3 separate regions of the Homo sapiens genome follow, and regions 2 and 3 are each linked to region 1. The links are contacts of gene promoters, found by promoter capture Hi-C in blood cells and fetal thymus (Javierre and others, 2016). All regions are on one chromosome and are shown on one strand. The core of a region is centred on a gene start or on the middle of the fragment in contact, and the rest is flanking DNA. Distances in the headings are between cores, read along the strand shown.

Region 1 (3,277 bases), core at 288-2,787:
GCGTGCGACATGCCGCAGGGCGTTCCCAGCACGCTTTGCGTGTCACTATGGCAACCCAACCCAAAGGCACGACATGGTCTAAGCGGTAGTCGCCAAGGCAGCCCTCCTGGAAAGGGGCGGTACCAGCATTGGCCCCTAATAACCCGCGAAACCTAAAACCTGCCTCCAGAGACGTACCATATCCCATCCAACTCCAGCGAGATGCAAACCACACCACGTAACCCGGGCTGTTGCCTTTATAGCTTTGATACCCTCCATAGCACAGGTAGTGACAGGGCAAACTCTAATGACAGAAAACCCCCACCCGATGGAACCATAAAAAACATAATAGACAAGATGATTTAATTCTTCAGCTAAAACAGCGGAAGAGGTGATTTATTATATGGTTGTTACACTCGGCCACAAATAAACACAGAAATAGTCCAGAATGTCACAGGTCCAGGGCAGAGGACCAACATGGGCATTTTGTTTATGAGCAAGGTGGGTCTCAGAGGTGATCGGCGATCAGAGGGCGATGAAGTTCTAGATCCATTGAGACAAGCTCTAGACAGTAGCATGCAGTCCCACAACTTGTACCAGCATCCCCAGCGTCTGGCATTCCATGTTTCTGCTCCTGTGGCCTCCACGGTGCAACAAGCTAGCGGTTTACTTGGACCTCTGCCTCATCTTTCTTCTTTTGCGCTTCAGCCTGAAAAGCAGACACAGGAATGGAATACACCTCAAACCAGAGTTGCCTTTCCCTCCCACATTAAATCAAACGTCCACATAAAGAATGAGGTGGTAAAATGAACAAGCACTACGGTTCTATCGTTCTCTGTTCTGTTAAATCCTGGCTCCAGGGAGAAAACACTCAAACGTTTTTCTCCTAAAGATCTTTTAAGATTTCCAAACCAAATGTTTCTCCTAAGTTTTGTCCAAGGAACTTCCCTCCTCCTGGGCTGGCAAAGTCTCAACGTACCTGCGCATTCGCTTCTTCCTCCACTAGCAACCGATCACAAGCAGCAGATAATTAAAAAAAAAAAAAAAAAAAAGGGATGAAGCTTATTAGTAGGCTTAGCAAGGATATGAAATGCACTCTTTAGAACCGGACAGATTCTTAACCAAGAAGTATGAAAGATTGGTCGTAACAACTACATCAGTAACTTGGACACCCTCCCAACATAAGATCAGAATTCCACCCTTTTCTAAGCCCACCCTCTCTACCCATAGCACTTAACCGCTAGCTCTCTCACAAACTACCTTCTCTCTCCCACCAGCTCTTGGGCACCCTTGAAACCCAGTAGTTCAGGAGGTATGGCGGACTTGCCTTCGTCTCCTCGCTACTACTCGCCAACTCCTACCTCCCAAGCTTACTACCAGGAACCGCTCACCTTGGCTCTCATGGCGCAGAGGTTTCTACAGGGAAAGAGAGAAAGGCTACAGTTAGTTTGCTGTGATGATGCTAAGTGCCGAGGTCAGATGTCTATGGATTGTACACGGAATCCCAACGCAGGAACCAAAAAACACTCACCCAAAAAAATGGCGCTAAGGCCGAGAGAAAGGCGAAGTTCCGTCTACGGCTATTTAATGGAGCGCCGGGTGTCGTCACTTCCGCTTTCACGCCCTTTGCCCCCCCCAAGGGCGGGGCTACCCAATGGGCGTAACAGTGGTTTTCGGACCCTCTTGTAGAAGGGTAGGTTGAGTTAGTTCTTTCGGAAGACCGAGTATTTGGTTTTCGAGTTACCAGTTCCCCCCCAGATTTAGTATGAGGACGCTGTGTTATTTAAACGTCAGCACCTATTTCCAATATTGGACCTAGAGGTGCAGACGGGGAAAAAATAGTGACCGCCACCTTCCCTCGCATTGCTTCTTGGGAGTTGCAGTTCCCTGGAGAAGTCCTCCATTTTGCTATGGATAGGCGCGGACTGTACAGAAATTCTTGTTTTACTGGTTTGCCTTCTTTTCTTTCTTTCTTTCTTTCTTTCTTTCTTTCTTTCTTTCTTTCTTTCTTTCTTTCTTTCTTTTCTTTCTTTCTTTCTTTTTTTCTTTTTTGAGACAGGATCTCACTGTGTCACCCAGGCTGGAGTGCAGTGACGCGATCTCGGCTCACCGCAATTTCCGCCTCCTGAATACAAGCGATTCTCCCGCCTCAGCTTCCCGAGCAGCTGGGACAACAGGCGCGCGCCACTTGGCTAATTTTTGTATTTTTAGTAGAGACGAGGTTTCGCTGTGTTGCCCAGGCTGGTCTCGAACTCCTGAGCTCAAGCGATCCGCCCGCCTCGGCCTCTCAAAGTGCTGGGATTACAAGCATGAACCACCGCGCCCAGCCGGTTTGCCTTATTTTCTAAAATAAATTGCTGCAGGGTGATTCGATTCCGGAACCATCGAAGGTCCTAAGATTTCAGAACATAGGAAGATATAAAGTGGGGATTCGGGAAAGCTGCCATACTTCAAAAAATATTTTCTCACTGTTTAAGATAGAGCAATTATTTTTCCTAAATTTCAAGAATAAAATAGCTGATTATGGTCTTCCCCCACGATGCCCGAAGCAAAATATCACTAGAGATTCCTGGCTACAATGCATCATTTGTTCAGAAAATACGTCAGCGGGCTGGGCACGGTGGCTCATGCCTGTAATCCCAGCGCTTTGGGAGGCTGAGGTGGGGGAATCTCGAGCCCAGGAAGTCGAGGCTGCAGTGACCTATGCAGTGATTCTCTAGGGGTGAAGAGCGAACCAACGGACATAGGGAGAAAATTACCTAAATCTAGGGAAAGTATGACATTTGGTGTTAAGATAAAGAACTTCCCAGTTTGATTGTATGCTCAGGTGAGAAGCACTGGAAAACAACCAGATCCCCTAAGATTTGGCTACAGGAAACTTTTGAGTTAATGGGGGATGAAAAAGAACCCTTTCCCTATAGAGACTTCATCTTACAGTTTTAAAATACTGTAACATTTTGTATGTGATTGTTACAATCCCTCTTTTTTTGTGGTTTCCCTTTATTATATTCCAGGATAGCATTTCACTTTCAATCCCTGAAAAACGTTTTTAAAATTAGGTTCCTTCTAAGTAGTTGTAGTATTGTCACCACCCAAATATATATGACAATTTTTTTGAAACAAAAAAAATCCTAGCAGAATTATTTTGTATCAGTTCCACCAAGATTTCAACTGATGATTGCCAACTAGTTTATAAGCTCTTTGAGGGAAATTTTGTTTGCTTGTTTTTGATACGGAATGGAATCTCACTCCTGTCACCCAGGCTGGAGTGCAGTGGCGCGATCTTGGCTCACTGCAA
Region 2 (3,277 bases), core at 303-2,802, 960 kb before region 1:
GCTGTCTGGCCCAGGCTGGAGTGCAGTGGTGCAATCTCGGTTCCTGTTTCAAGCCATTCTCCCATCTCAGCCTCCCAAGTAGCTGGGACTACAGGCATGTGCCACCACACTCGGCTAATTTTTTTTTTTTTGAGACAGAGTTTCGCCCTCGTTGCCTAGGCTGGAGTGCAATGGCACTATCTAGGCTCACTGCAACCTCAGCCTCCAGAGTTCAAGCACTTCTCCCTCTGCCTCCCGAGTAGCTGGGATTATAGGCGCATGCCACCATGCCTGGCTAACTTTTTGTATTTTTTGTACAGACGGGGTTTCACCAGGCTGGCCAGGCTGGTCTCAAACTCCTGACCTCGTGATCTGCCCACCTCAGCCTCCCAAAGTGCTGGGATTACAGGCGTGAGCCACCACGCCCAGCCACACTCAGCTAATTTTGTATTTTTAGTAGAGATGGGGTTTCACCATGTTGGCTAGGTTGGTCTCGAACTCCTGACCTCAGGTGTTCCGCCCGCCTCAGCCTACCAAAGTACTGGGATTACAGGCGTGAGCCACCATGCCTGGCCTTCATTTATTATTTTTTAGTGACGTGGTTTTGCTGTGACACCCAGGCTAGAGTGCAGTGCACAATCATAGCTCACTGTAACTTCCCACCTCGGTCTCCCCAAGTAGCTGGGACTACAGGCACGTGCCATCTGCCTGGTAAAAATCATTATTAATGTTGTGGATTAAACATTTGGTTGGATATTGGTGGTTTGTACTGTTGGTTGGATATTTGTGGTATTTCTAGTTTTTCATTGTTGTAAGTTTGTGAACATCTTTGTGTATACATTTTTATTTATTTATTTATTTATTTTTTTGAGATGGAGTCTTGCTCTGTTGCCCAGGCTGGAGTGCAGTGGTGCCATCTCGGCCACCTAGGTTCAAGCGATTCTCCTACCTCACCCTCCCGAGTAGCTGGGATTACAGGTGTGTGCCACCATGCCCGGGTAATTTTTTTGTATTTTTAGTAGAGTGGGATTTCGCCATGTTGGCCAGGCTGGTCTCAAACTCCTGACCTCAAGTGATCTGCCCGCCTCAGCCTCCCAAAGTGCTGGGATTACAGGTGTGTGCCACCATGCCCGGGTAATTTTTTTGTATTTTTAGTAGAGTGGGATTTCGCCATGTTGGCCAGGCTGGTCTCAAACTCCTGACCTCAAATGATCTGCCCGCCTCAGCCTCCCAAAGTGCTGGGATTACAGGTGTGAGCCACCGTGCCTGGCCTTATTTTTTTTTCTTTTTTTTTTTGTAGAGATGGGGTTTCATCATGTTGGCCAGGCTGGTCTCAAACTCCTGAGGTCAGGCAATCCCCTCACCTTGGCTTCCCAAAGTCCTGGGACTACAGGCGTGAGCCACCACGCCTGGGCCCAACTATTTATTTATTTATTTATTTATTTATTTATTTATTGATATTGAGATGGAGTCTTGCTCTGTCGCCCAGGCCGGAGTGCAGTGGTGTGATCTTGGCTCCCAACTATTTATTTATTTATTTATTTATTTATTTATTTATTTATTTATATTGAAATGGAGTCTTGCTCTGTCGCCCAGGCTGGAGTGCAGTGGTGTGATCTTGGCTCACTGCAAGCTCCACTTCCCGGGTTCATGCCATTCTCCTGCCTCAGCCTCCCAAGTAGCTGGGACTACAGGCGCCCGCCACCGTACCCAGCTAATTTTTTTTGTGCTTTTAGTAGAGATGGGGTTTCACCTTGTTAGCCAGGATGGTTTCAATCTGCTGACCTGGTGATCCACCTGCCTCGGCCTCCCAAAGTGGTGGGATTACAGGTGTGAGCCACGGCGCCCAGCCCCTTATTTATTTTTTTGAGACGTAGTCTTGCTCTGTCACCCAGGCTGGAGTGCAGAGGCGCGATCTCGGCTCACTGCAGTCTCCCCTCCCAGGTTCAAGCGATTCTTCTGCCTCAGCCTCCCAAGAAGCTGCGATTACAGGTGCCCGCCACCATGCCCAGCTGATTTTTTTGTATTTGTAGTAGAGACGGGGTTTCACCATGTTGGCCAGGCTGGTTTTGAACTCCTGACCTCAAGTGATCCGTCTGCCTTGGCCTCCCCAAGTGCTGGGATTTCAGGTGTGAGCCACCATGCCCGGCTGGACAGTGGTCACTTTTAAATCTTGAATTAGCTGATATTAAATACAAATTGAGAGGAGAATCTTCTGTTTTGGTAAATCAGAGGGACTGCATGTAATCATTGCCTGCTGTTAAAATTTGAAGTGACACAAAACAGCTGGAAGGAAACAACCTTGAAATCTTTTAGTATCCTCCAAAAGTACTATATATTAAAAATATTGCTGGCTGGGCGTGGTGGCTTACGCCTGTAATCCCAGCACTTTGGGAGGCTGAGGTGGGTGGATCAGTTGAGGCCAGGAGTTCTAGATCAGTCTGGCCAACATGGTGAAACCCCATCTCTACTACAAAAATACACACACACAAAAAAAGTTAGCCAATTGAGTTGGCTCATGCCTGTAATGCCAGCTACTCAGGAGGCTGAGGTGGGAGAATCGCTGGAACCTGGGAGGCAGAGGTTGCAGTGAGCCAAGATCGCACCACTGTATTCCAGCCTGGGTGACAGAGTGAGACCCTGTCTGAAAAAAAAAAAAAAAAATGCTGGCTGGGCATGGTGGCAGATCTGTAATCCCAGTGCTTTGGGAGGTCAGCGTGGGTGCTTTGGGAGGCCAATGTGGGAGGATTGCTTTAGGCCAGGAGTTCAAGACCAGCCTGGGCAACATAGTAAGACCTTGTCTCTTTAAAAAAAAAAAAAACTAGCTGGGTGTGGTGGTGTATACCTGTAGTCCTGGCTACTTGGGAGGCTGAAGTGGGAGGATTGTTTGAGCCCAAGAGTTTGAGGCTGCAATGAGCTATGATCACATTACTGTACTCCAGCCTGAGCAGCAGAGCCAGACCCTGTCTCAAAAAAAAAATAAAAAAATAAAATAAAAAACCTGCCAATTCTGTTCTACTCAGGAAAGGGATAGAGAAAATCAACAGATGGAGTAGTTTAGCTTACTTTATTCCTTTATAGGACAGGAAGTATATCTAGTGTTTAAGACCATAGTCAGACCTGGGGGTGAATCTCAGATAGGCTATTTACTATTTGTGTGATTTTGGAGCAAATTACTTAATCTTTCTTAAACATCAGTTCCTCATTTATAAAATAGGGATTATGAGAGTGCTTACCTCATAGCATTGTTGGGAGCATTAAATGAGACAGCATACTGTCTCTTTTATTTATGTATTTA
Region 3 (3,277 bases), core at 529-3,028, 570 kb before region 1:
AGGCGTCAGCTACTGCTCCTGGCCAAATATTTTGTATTTTTAGTAGGGACGGGGGTTTCACCATGTTAGCCAAGCTGGTCTTGAACTCCTGATCTCCAGTAATCCACTGGCCTCGGCCTCCCAAAGTGTTGGGATTACAGGCGTGAACCAGTGCGCCAAGTTAACTTCCTTTTTTTTTTTTTTTTTTTTTTGAGACCCAGACTCACTCTGTCGCCCAGGCTGAAGTGCAGTGGCGCGATCTCGGCTCACTGCAACCTCCGCCTCCCGGGTTCAAGCGATTCTCCTGTCTCGCTCTCCCGAGTAGCTGGGACTAGAGGCGTGTGCCACCACACCCGGCTGATTTTTTTTTATTTTTAGTAGAGACGGGGTTTCACCATGTTAGCCAGGATGGGCTCAATCTCCTGACCTCGTGATCTGCCCGCCTCTGCCTCCCGAAGTGCTGGGATTACAGGCGTGAGCCACCGCGCCCGGCCCCTTCCCTTTTTTTTTTTTTTTTTGACACAGGGTCTCACTCTGTCGCCCAAGTTGGAGTGCTCACTGCAACCTCCGCCTCCCGGGTTCGGGGTTCGAGCTATCCTCCCGCCTCATACTAGCTAGTATTTGGCATTACAGGCAAGTGCCACCACGCCCTGCTAATTAGTATTTTTAGTAGAGATGGGGTTTCACCATGTTGGGTGGGCTGGTCCTGAACTCCTGACCTCAGGTGATCCGCCCACCGAACTTCCCAAAGTACTGGGATTATAGGCGTGAGCCACGGGCGCCCCGCCCAATTTCCCTTTTTAATGGCATTTGAGCTAGGGTCCAGGTTTCGTAGCTCCCACTACCTGTCCTGCACAACACAGACACTAAATACCTTAGTGCTTATTATGAAGCCCCGTTCTTCAGAAAGGTTTTATAGCACTTTCGTTAAACCTCCTTCCTGTTCAAAATGCAGCGCACTAGAGTATTTTTCCCCAATCCACCGTTAAGCGGCTTCTTCTTAAGCAGGACTGTTTTGGGTCTCTTGGTTGCTACCCCTACTACACCCTACTAATATGTTGCACAAAGCGACGGGGAACCCCTTCTCCCCCAAACGATGTGCGTGGAAACACACAATGTCCTACTCTCTCCATTCCCAGAAACCTAGACTCTCCCCTCAAATACCTTTCCTGGCTCATCTACAGCACTAAGGTCTCAAGGTAGGGGCAAAAGCCCGCCCCAATTGGCAAATGCTCCTCCTCCGCCAAGAACCTCGAATTTCCGCTGTCCCTGGACAGAGCCTCCAACCTTCAGAAAAATGGCGAGGTGGACCCAGGCCCTTGATTCTGAAGTGAGCCCTTTTCCACAGCACAGGCTTTTTACAGGTTTTTGTGGTGGAATGATGACTCAGTGAGCTGATTTACTCCCTCAAGAGTAACCAACGCGCCATTTCAGTTCTCCAGGATCCCGACTCCGTGTCCCTCCGCCTCAGCCTTGCCTCCCACTGTCAACGCAACCGTTTCTCAGAGAAATCGCCGAAGGCGCATGGCAGGGCAGTTGGGCCACTAACGGTTTTCTAACGCGAGAAGACAGAGCGGGAGGAGAGGCGGGAACGCGTAGGGACTAGCAGGGGGCGGAGTGGGGGTGGGGTGGCGGACGAAGGGCGGGGCCGGCGCCAGGAAGGATCGCGAAGGAGCTGGGAGGCCCCGCCCTTTCCGTAGATATCTCTAGAAAGCCGCGCCGGAGCCCAAAAACAAGGACTGCGCACGCGCGGCGGCAAGGCCCGGGCATTTTGCTGCGTCACCAGCCGCCGCCCGGCCTCACCACCCCTCGTTTGCACGCACGCACGTTCATTCTCCGTCCTCGCGCCCCTTTTCCTACACTTTCCTCTTCTCCCCGACCGGAGGAGCCGCTCTTTCCGCGCGGTGCATTCTGGGGCCCGAGGTCGAGCCCGCCGCTGCCGCCGTCGCCTGAGGGAAGCGAGAAGAGGCCGCGACCGGAGAGAAAAAGCGGAGTCGCCACCGGAGAGAAGTCGACTCCCTAGCAGCAGCCGCCGCCAGAGAGGCCCGCCCACCAGTTCGCCCGTCCCCCTGCCCCGTTCACAATGTGAGTGCGACACCCCGCCGAGGGAAGGTCGCCGAGTGAGGCCGAGGCCGCGTTGGGGGCTCCCTGGAAGCGGCCCCCTAGCCTTTCTCGCATCGGTGGTGGCAGTCGTTCCTGCCTGGGGGCGGGAGGTCCAGGATCCTTGTTCCGGTTACCGTTGGCGGGTGGAGGACATTTTTCCTCCAGATGTCTGCTTCCCCCACCCCTGAACCGTTCCTTGGCTTCCCCATGCCGGAAATCCTACTTTTACCCCTTTGGCTGTCTGGGTTACTCGCCTCTTTCGGTAACTTCACCCTAGGCCTTAAGCTCCCGGTAGCTGCTCGCCATGCGGCGCCCTGAAGCGTGAACCTTCGTGGGTCGCCTCTCGGCTGCTTGGGCGCTCCGGTTCTGTTGCTTTGTGGTCCCGGGGCCAGGCCCTGAGTCGAGTGCACCTGTGGTGGGTGCCGCCAGGTGCCTGGCGGAGCTCCTGGGAGAGCCCCACGCGGACCTCGCCGTGAGCTGCAGGTACTGCTAGGCAACTAGAAGGAAGCCATGCCCACGCCGCAACATACTTCCCTCTCCAGTGTCTGGGTTTCTTGAGTGTGGGTACTTCCAGTCCGCCTCCTAACTCCAGTCTCTTGAAAACACGGGAGGTTGCCAAAACTCAGCCGCTTCCCTGGCAGCGAGGAGGAGTTACCATTGAGCAGGTAGTTCCGCACGTGTCGACTTTGGAAAGATACGGACATTTTCTGTGTTTCATGTTCTACTTGAGGTGAGGTTTCACTATCTTGTTACAGTGTAGGATGAAATAGGTATGTAGTAGGCATTTAATTAACCTACAGTCGTCCCAAAGATCTTAAATTTGTGTGGAGGTGAATACAGATTCTATGGCAGTCTTCATTTTACGATGATAAAGGAAAGCCTTGGCGATTTTAACCGGTAAGAATTCTTGGCACTGCCGCGTACAGTGGGAACTGCCGGTTTTACAGGGTTTTTTTTTTTTTTTTTTTTTTTTTGACGGGAGGTTATTTTTCAAGGTACTAACTACGTCCTAAAAGGTATGGAGAACAATTAAGGTGGAACCTTTTTTTTCTTTTGTTTTAGACTCCATTCAGAAGAGAGAAGAGGGGAGTGACTTTATGTCTTTGGAAAAGTAATAAGGATTTGCTTGATTCAAGTCATGATACTGAGGCTGAGTATATTGGCTAGAAATCTAAAGGGATGCGTGAGGCTGAAG

The links. The method cuts DNA at HindIII sites, captures the fragments that hold promoters and counts their contacts. A CHiCAGO score of 5 or more calls a contact.
Region 2: a fragment that was not itself captured here is called in contact with the fragment with the promoter of RPL41 in region 1 in 1 of 17 cell types (neutrophils); the score reaches 5.6 in neutrophils.
Region 3: a contact is called between the fragment with the promoter of PTGES3 here and the fragment with the promoter of RPL41 in region 1, in 1 of 17 cell types (erythroblasts). The highest score is 5.3, in erythroblasts.

The regions. Positions count from the first base shown.
Region 1 is chr12:56,114,893-56,118,169 of GRCh38, reverse strand. RPL41 (ribosomal protein L41) reads right to left here and starts at 1,537. Exons shown (of 3, transcript NM_001035267.2): 1 at 1,371-1,537; 2 at 959-981; 3 at 203-688. The coding sequence starts at 1,382. The coding sequence ends at 646. RefSeq lists a silencer at 180-229 and an enhancer at 1,896-1,945. The HindIII fragment of the contact is 11,197 bases long and covers 1,351-3,277 here.
Region 2 is chr12:57,073,659-57,076,935 of GRCh38, reverse strand. The region is part of intron 1 of NEMP1 (nuclear envelope integral membrane protein 1); the gene reads left to right. Among named protein-coding and RNA genes, the nearest start is that of NEMP1, 3.5 kb to the left of the region's middle. The HindIII fragment of the contact is 8,733 bases long and covers 1-3,277 here.
Region 3 is chr12:56,686,785-56,690,061 of GRCh38, reverse strand. It overlaps PTGES3 (prostaglandin E synthase 3), which reads left to right and starts at 1,778. Exons shown (of 8, transcript NM_006601.7): 1 at 1,778-2,064. The coding sequence starts at 2,063. RefSeq lists enhancers at 1-315, 842-891, 1,368-1,893, 2,392-2,511, 2,622-2,671 and a silencer at 1,542-1,731. The HindIII fragment of the contact is 8,036 bases long and covers 1-3,277 here.